Linked DNA regions of Homo sapiens: all the other regions are linked to region 3. Evidence: promoter capture Hi-C in human tissues and cell types (Jung and others, 2019). All regions are on one chromosome and are shown on one strand. The core of a region is centred on a gene start or on the middle of the fragment in contact, and the rest is flanking DNA. Distances in the headings are between cores, read along the strand shown.

Evidence for each region. Contacts are between HindIII fragments. The study calls those that stand out against the background at their distance.
Region 1: a fragment that was not itself captured here is called in contact with the fragment with the promoter of RELT in region 3 in 1 of the 25 tissues and cell types used here (spleen).
Region 2: a contact is called between a fragment that was not itself captured here and the fragment with the promoter of RELT in region 3, in 1 of the 25 tissues and cell types used here (thymus).

What each region holds. Positions count from the first base shown.
Region 1 is chr11:72,447,190-72,449,889 of GRCh38, forward strand. No RefSeq gene overlaps it. Among named protein-coding and RNA genes, the nearest start is that of CLPB, 14 kb to the left of the region's middle. The HindIII fragment of the contact is 4,196 bases long and covers 1-2,700 here.
Region 2 is chr11:73,930,430-73,933,129 of GRCh38, forward strand. PAAF1 (proteasomal ATPase associated factor 1) reads left to right here. Exons shown (of 12, transcript NM_025155.3): 12 at 1-685. Among named protein-coding and RNA genes, the nearest start is that of DNAJB13, 19 kb to the right of the region's middle. RefSeq lists a silencer at 2,193-2,443. The HindIII fragment of the contact is 4,129 bases long and covers 1-2,700 here.
Region 3 is chr11:73,375,134-73,377,833 of GRCh38, forward strand. RELT (RELT TNF receptor) reads left to right here and starts at 1,266. Exons shown (of 11, transcript NM_152222.2): 1 at 1,266-1,366. RefSeq lists silencers at 986-1,295, 1,326-1,615, 1,706-1,785 and an enhancer at 1,951-2,245. The HindIII fragment of the contact is 25,019 bases long and covers 1-2,700 here.

The sequences.
Region 1 (2,700 bases), core at 42-2,541, 930 kb before region 3:
TTCACCATTCCATTCCATTCCACTCCACTCCATTCTTCTCAACAAATTATTTGGCATTCAATGCCTATGCTGGGCTTTTGTCCAACTCTCTAAAGCTTACAAAGTTTCAATAATATTCAGCCTCATTTATTGAGCACCTGTAAGGCATGGGTTACTGAAACTGTAGTCATGAAGAAGCCATGGAGCTCTGGAGGGGCATGCAGACAATAGGCCATGTCAGCAGAGAGTGGTGAGTGCCACGATTGAGATAATTCTGGTGTCCCTGGGAGCACATAGCAAGCCGAGTGGTCAGAGAAGGCTTCCTGAAGGAAGTGACATCTAAGCTGAGCTCTGCAGGAGGAGCTAGAATTGACCAGACGAAAGGGATTACAGTAGCTGATGTAGGGTGGGGCACTTGGAGAATAGGGTCACTGTAGGTAAAGGGAACCCTACGGGCAAATGAGCAGAGGCAAGAGTGCAATTCTTTTTTTTTTTTTTTTTTTTTTTGGCAATGCATGTTTGAGGAACTGAGTGTTCAGTGTGGATTAAGTGTAGAGTGGGAGGGGCTAAGAGGGGATAATGAGGCTGAACCAGAGGGGTTAAGTAACTTACTAGGTTCTCCCAGCAAGTACTTAGTGCACCAAGAATTTGAACCCAGGGCTAAATGACTTAACCATTTTCTCTTATACTCATCATGAAGACTTTGCTCCACGAGCCTTTACTAGACCCCATGCCTACTGCCACTCTGCTTCTTCCAACTGGGCACAAAGCTTAGCCAACTGCTTTCCCTCTCTTGCTCCTTATTTCCCTCTCCTTCCTTCCTTCCACATTGCTTGTTTTCTGCAGCCTTGGTGCTAGGGAGAAGACAGAGAAGGCACTTTGGGTCAGGAGGTGATAATTCAGATCTCAGAGGAACTGTCCACTCTGCTCATGTTGATAGATAAAGCTGATAGATGAAAATGATTCCTGCATCAGAGCCTCTCTCCGTCTCTCCAGCTTAGTAGAGCAGGGTGGGGCCTGGGGTGGGGATGGTGGATGAGCCCTGGCATTGAAAGCTGCGTCTCTCGGTAGTAGCCCTCTGTCTGTTCATGGGCAAATAAATGTGTGTACGTGTTTACTGAGTGCTTACTATGAGCAAGACTCTGCTTTTGCTGCTTATGCTACATTAATTCCAACAACAATCCTATGAGGAAGAGATTCTCTCCACTTTACAGATTCAAAAAACCCAAAATGGAGCAGCCTTGCTAGTGAAGTATGCAGCATGTCAGTCTCAAAAAAAAAAAAAAAATATATGTATATATATATATATATAAAGGTTAAGTAATTTGGCCAGGGTCACCTAGCTTGTAAATGGCAAAAATGGGGCTCAAATGGTCTGAATCCAAAGCCCAGACTGTTTACCACTACAAAATCCCAGCTCCTAGGAAAAAACAAAGATCCACATGTGATAGATATCCTTGAAGTTTGCCTAAGGTATGGAGGAAGAGAAGAATTGAAAGTATAGTCAACACAGTGCTGAGCCAATATGATACATTCTGAGCTGTGATGTGTGCGAGGGTGCACTCTCACATAACTGAACCAAAGGCACAAACAAATGAAAGGGAGGAAGGAAAACTCCAGGCAGGAAGGAATTCCCAGATGCTCAGCTGCACAGATGGCTCTTCCTTGAGAGCTAATGGGATGACCACCATCACTCCTTTTCCAAGCTTGAAGGCTCCCAGTCTTTCTAACTGGACAGGCATAAGACAAACTCTTTTTTCTTCTTCATTCATCTGAGATATTGGACAGCCTTCAAATATAACCTTACTAGAATGCTGACAAAATAACAAAACCTTAAAAAGCAAAGGGACAAGTGTAATTCTAGAGCACATATTTTTGATAGAACGGCGAGTGAGTGAACTCTGGCCATAGATGTGCTGGCTGGGCCCTCTGGTGGGCAATGAAACTTCTACTCTTTCCTTTCCCTCCACCCCATATCTGTTTTGCTTGGATGATGGAGCAAGCTACTTTGTCTCCTGTCACAGGATGGGTTCTCTGGAAGCAGAAGCTGAGATAGAGCTGTGGGTGCAAGATGGTTATTAGGGATCAATATCTGTGAGGAGAAGCGGGAGGGAGCAGGATTGGGCAGAGGAAGAAACTGAACTGTGATGCAGACCTGGCCAAGGCTTGGTCAACTGTATTAGTCCATTCTCACGCTGCTATGAAGAAATACCCAAGACCGGGTAATTTTTTTTTTTTTTTTTTTTGAGACGGAGTCTCGCTCTGTTGCCCAGGCTAGAGTGCAGTGGCACGATCTCGGCTCACTGCAACCTCTGCCTCCCGGGTTCACGCCATTCTCCTGCCTCAGCCTCCGGAGTAGCTGGGACTACAGGCGCCTGCCACCATGCCCAGCTAATTTTTTTTTTTTTTTTTTTTTTAGTAGAGACGGGGTTTCACTGTCAAGATGGTCTCGATCTCCTGACCTCATGATCTGCCCGCCTCAGCCTCCCAAAGTGCTGGGATTACAGGCGTGAGCCATCGCGCCCAGCCAAGACTGGGTAATTTATAAAGGAAAGAGGTTTAATTGACTCACAGTTCCTCATTGCTGGGAAGCCCTCAGGAAACCTAATCATGGCAGGAGGGGAAGCAATCACGTCCTTCTTCACGTGACGGCAGGAGAGAGAAGAATGAGAACCGAGCAAAGGGGGAGCCCCTCATAAAAGCATCAGATATCATGAGAAC
Region 2 (2,700 bases), core at 185-2,684, 560 kb after region 3:
TGAAACATTTGAACTCATAGAAGCAGTGAGTGGAAGAACCAGCGTGGTGGCTCACGCCTGTAATCCCAGCACTTTGGGAGGCTGGGGTGGGTGGATCGCTGGAGCCCAGGAATTGGAGACCAGCCTGCACAACATGAGGAAACTCTGTCTCTACTAAAAATACAAAACTTAGCCAGGTGTGGTGGTGGGCACCTGTAATACCAGCTACTAAGGAGACTGAGGCAGGAGAATTGCTTGAACCCAGGAGGTGGAGGGTGTAGTGAGCTGAGATTGCACCACTGCACTCCAGCTTGGGCAACAGAGCGAGACTCTCTCTCAAAAAAGAAAAAAAAAATATGTATATATATATGTATATATATATATTTATATATGTAGAAGCAGTGAGTAGAATGGTGGTTACAGAGACTCGGGGAGGAGGAATGGGGAAATGATGGTCATAGGGTGCAAAGTCTCAGGAGGAATATATTGTGTTTTGAGATCTATTGCATAGCATGGTAGATTGCTAAGAGTAAATTTCAAATGTTCTCAACCCAAAAAATGTTAAGCATTTGAGGTGATGGATATGTTAACTGGCTTCATTTAATTATTCCATATTGTATTTATAAGTCACAATAGGACTTTGTGGCCCATAATTATAAACAAGTATAAATTGTCCATTTACAATTAAAAATCAATTAAAAGAAAAGAGGATAAGGAGGGATATGGCTGAGTACACACAACACGTGAATGTCTGTGAGTTCTCATTCCAGGGCTCACTCTTCTACATTGCCACCACATTCGTCCGCTCCTTTTCATACGTCTCCAGAGTCGATGTCCTGGTTGTGATATATGCAGTGACCCTTGACAGCTGCTCTGAAATCCAGACCCAAACAGAAGGAAAGGAGACCAGCTCTCAGGTGCTCCATAGCCTTGTCCACTGTGAAAGGAAGGAGCCCCTGCTTTTAGCAGACAAAGCTTTTTCTTTTTTTTCTTTAGGATTAAGGAGTGCATTCTGGGTAAGGAACGGTAGGACACCGACAGCTCTACAGACTCAGTGAACTTCTGTGCTAGATGGTGTTTCTTGGCTTTGGGATGCCCCCTTGTGACTTCTTATGAGAAATAACCTTTCTCTCCAGACCTGAAAAGCTGGCAGCAGCAGCAGCAGCTATTCAGCATGTACTTGGTACCAGGCACAGGCCTCACAATAGGTAGATTTCTTTTCTAAACAATACTCTTTGTGCATATACTTTATGTTCTTTTTCTATTTTAACTTTTATTTTGCCAATAACCTTAAACTTGCAGAAAAATTGCAAAAATAGTACAAAGGATAGGAAACAAACATGAGAAATATTTAAAAATAATAAAAAGAATAAAAAAGAATAGCATCAAGGATTTCAGTACACCCTCACCCGAATCTCCCAGTTGTTGAATTTTTTTTTTTTTTGAGACAGAGTCTCACTCTGTCGCCCAGGCTGGAGTGAAGTGGTGCGATCTTGGCTCACTGCAACCTCTGCCTCCCGGGTTCAAGCAATTCTCCTGCCCAGTCTCCTGAGTAGCTGGGATTACAAGGGTGCACCACCACACCTGGCTGATTTTTGTATTTTTAATAGAGACAGGGTTTCACCGTGTTGGCCAGGTTGGTCTCAAACTCCTGACGTCAAATGATCCGCCCGCCTCAGACTCCCAAAGTGCTGGGATGACAGGCGTGAGCCACCGTGCCCAGCCCAGTTGTCAACTTTTTATTATGTTTGCTTTATCACTCTCTTTCTGTATATATGTACACAGGTTATATATGCTATATTTTTTCTGACTCATTTGAGAGTAATATGTAAATGTTACATTCTATTACTTTATTACCATTTGTGATGGTAAATTTTATGTGTCAGCTTGACTGGCCATGGTGCCCAGATGGTTGGTCAATTTTCTGGATGTTTCTTTCAAGGTATTTTTTTTTTTATGAGATGAACATTTAAAATCAGTGAATTTTGGGGCCAGGCAAGCTACTCAAGTCCAGCTACTCAAGAGGCTGAAGTAGGAGGATCGATTGGGCCCAGAAGGTTGAGGCTTCAGTGAGCCATGATCATACCACTGAGCTCCAGCCTAGGCAACAGAGCAATACCATGTCTCAAAAAATAAATGAATAAACTAAAATCAGGGGATTTTGAGTAAAGCAGATTACCCTCCATAGTGTGATAGTGTGAGTCGGCCACATCCAATCAGTTGAAGACCTTAATAGAACAAAGACTGTTGTCCCCCAAGCAAGAAGTTCTGTCAACAGACTGCCTTTGGACTCAGACTGCAGTTCTTCCCTGAGTCTCCAGACCATCAGCCTACTCTATCAGTTTCTGGATTTGCCAAGCTTCCTGTGAGCCAATTCCTTAAATGTCTCTCTCTCTTTCTATGTATATATACACATACACACACGTATCTATATGAAAACAGAACGTACACATCTTATTTGTCCGCCTTCTCTGGAGAGACCTGACATATGTCATTGTATGGATATACCGCATTTTGTTTATCCATTCGTCAGTTGATGAATGGGCTGACATTTGGGCTGTTTCCACTTTTTAGCTACTATGAAATACACTGCTAGCAGCATTCATGTGCAAGTTCTTGCGTTAACATATGCCTTCAGTTCTATTTGGTATATACCTAACAGTGGAATTGCTGGGTCATATGGTACCTATATTTAACTTTTTGAGGGGCTGCCAACTGTTT
Region 3 (2,700 bases), core at 16-2,515:
GATGTGGGACCCTGGAAGAACCCCTGCCCCAGCCCTGGAGGTCTCCATTGACATATGAGGGTGCTGATGTCATGATCCTGACATCAATGACCTGTAGCTCCTTATGCCCTTCCCCCACAACCTGAGCATGACCCAGGGAAATGAAAACTCATCCCCTGCTCCCCTCCCCATGCGGTGTCCAGTTCGCCTCCTGGAATCTCCTGGACCCTGGGGACCTGACCTTTTCCGTCTCCTAGCCCCTGGGTTCAGATTCTATGACTGTTTAGAACCCCACCCCCAGCCATCTATCCCCAGCTGACTTATTTACCTTCCTTTCTCCATCTCTGTCATGGGCTGTGATTATCCTGACCCCAGCCAGGCCTCTGGCCCAGCACTAGGTCCTCCCTGGTGTCTCAGTCTCCCATCAGCCCTACTGTCCCAGGAGGACCGCCTGAGATCCCCTGAATAGTACTGAGAGGGGGAACGGGCCACTGAGCTGCTCCCTCCAGTCCTGGCACACCCTGTAGCACAACTCCAGGGGACACGATTCGGAGTCGGAATACAGTGTGAATACTGCCTGGAGTTTGTGATGACTGGCATTGGAAACTGGCAGGGTGGGATGGCTGTAGTAGGGAGGGGGGCACTGAGTCACCTGTCCTGCTGGAGGGAAACTAACTACCCTGGCACAGAGAAGTGGTGCGGGGAGTAGGGGAGTGGAGGCAGGAGACGCCTCCTGGAGGATTTCACTAGGCCTTGAAGGATGTGCCGAAGCCCACCGTGTGGGCTTCCTTTATAGACTCACCTTCACCAGGCCTTTTCGCCAACTAGGTGAGGGTTTCCAGGGTTGGGCCTGGGCCTCGTCAACAAAGCAAAGTGAGGTTATTCTTCCTGGCCACCAACTGGCAGGAGGAAGATGAAGCCCAGAAAGGGGCAGAGGTGGCTCTAGTTACACTGGCAATGCTGAGAGGACCCAGAGGAGTATCTCAGTCTCCAGTCTCTTTATCTTGCTTCGCACAACTCCTTGCTTGGTTCAGAGCCTTGAAGAGGCGGATACAAGAGGCCCTCTGGGCACCGCCGCCCAGTCCCGCGCAGCCCCCTGCAGTTCCCAGGGGCGCGAGAGAGGGCGACGTAGAGCAGCACCGCCCAGCGGCAGAGCGGCGAGCCCCTCCGCGGCTCGGGGTGAGTCGGGCGCGGGGCGCAGACCGCGCTCTGACGTCGGGGGCGGAGCGGCCGTGACGCGCGGGGGCGGGTCTGCGCACCTTCCCGGCCCAGCCGGCGATTCATTCAAAAGGCGCGCAGGCTGCGCGGCTGTCCGGGCGCTCGCCGAGCCGGGCCGCGGCGCCGAGTCGAACGGGGAGCCGAGCTGGAGCTGCCGCGGCGCAGCCAGGTAAGGAGGGCGCGCGGAGCGCCCATCCAGAGTCTGCTCTCCGCGGCCGGGCCAGCGGGATACGGACCCTAGTGGCGCCCCCTGCCTCCCCGTGTCTCTGAGGAAGTTCGCGGGCTCGGCGGATGCGGCAGCCCGGCCGCGCGCCCCCCCACCCCACTCCTCCCGCCTCGCGTCCTGTCCCGGCGCCTTCCGCGCACCGGCCACCGCCAGTCTCCGAGCCCCGTGACCTGCAGGTCCTCCGGCCGCGACTCCGGGCCGGCCCTGCGTGGTGGCTGTCGGGGGGCGCGCGGGGAAGCAGCGGAACTTGCGGTGTGAGGGGCCGGCGGGGCCCGGAGCGGTCCCCGGCCCGGGAAACTTGGACCGAGACCAGGTTGTGGTGCGGGCTGGACGGCGGCGCCTCGGCGCGGCTGCGGCGCGGGGCGGCCAAGGGGGGGTCTGGATGGTGTCAGCCCGTGACTGTGGGTGACACGGCGCGTGAGGCGGCCTGGCCGGGCGAACGTGTGGCTGGGACACTGGGCGGTGACGCCGGGCCGAGCGGGCGACACAGAGGGGCTCTGTGTGTGGGAGACAGGCAGCGTGTGTGCGTGTGTTGTGTGAGGGAAAGACCCGGGGTCACTGGGGTCACGAAGTGCGTGGCTTGGGGCGTGACCGGCGCAGGGCCAGGGCCACCCGTTACTGTGAGTGTGAAATAGAGGGAGAGGAGCCCAAGTGACTGAGAACGAGCCGAGCTCGCTGGCGCCATGGTGTGCGTGTGGGGTCAAGTGGTGTCAGTGTGTGTGTGTGTGTGTGTGTGTCTGCGCCTAGGGTGATGATGAGTAAGAGGCAGGAGGAGGAGGGACCGGACCTAGGACACCTTCCGGCAGATGTGGGGCGATGAGGAAGTTGGGGAGCCAGGAGACAAGGGTCTCCAGGACTGTCCCCACGAGGGCACCCCTCAGGAGTTCAGCTTGGTGAGGAGATGGACCCTGAGGGATAGGCCCTGGCTGAGGGAGAAAGCCGAGGCTGGGCAACATCTGGTGGGGTGGCCCAGATGGCAGCAGGGTAGGGGCCCTGTGGTAGTCTCAGCTTCCCCCCGCCCACCTGCATCCACACACTCACGCATCGAAGTCCCTACACCTGGCAAAGTTCTGCCCCTGTGTAATCTGTATTCTCAGCGGACCCGGACACAATCTTGTTCTCAGACCCCCCCGCCCCCCTCCCCCGCGCAGGCCTCAGTCTCCCCATCTGCACACTGAGGTGCTGGGCTTTGAATGGACTGTGAATCATCACTTTGGGATCCTCTATTGTTTTGGGTCAACTGCCTGTGTTCTCCCTTCCCTTCAGGCAGAAAGACT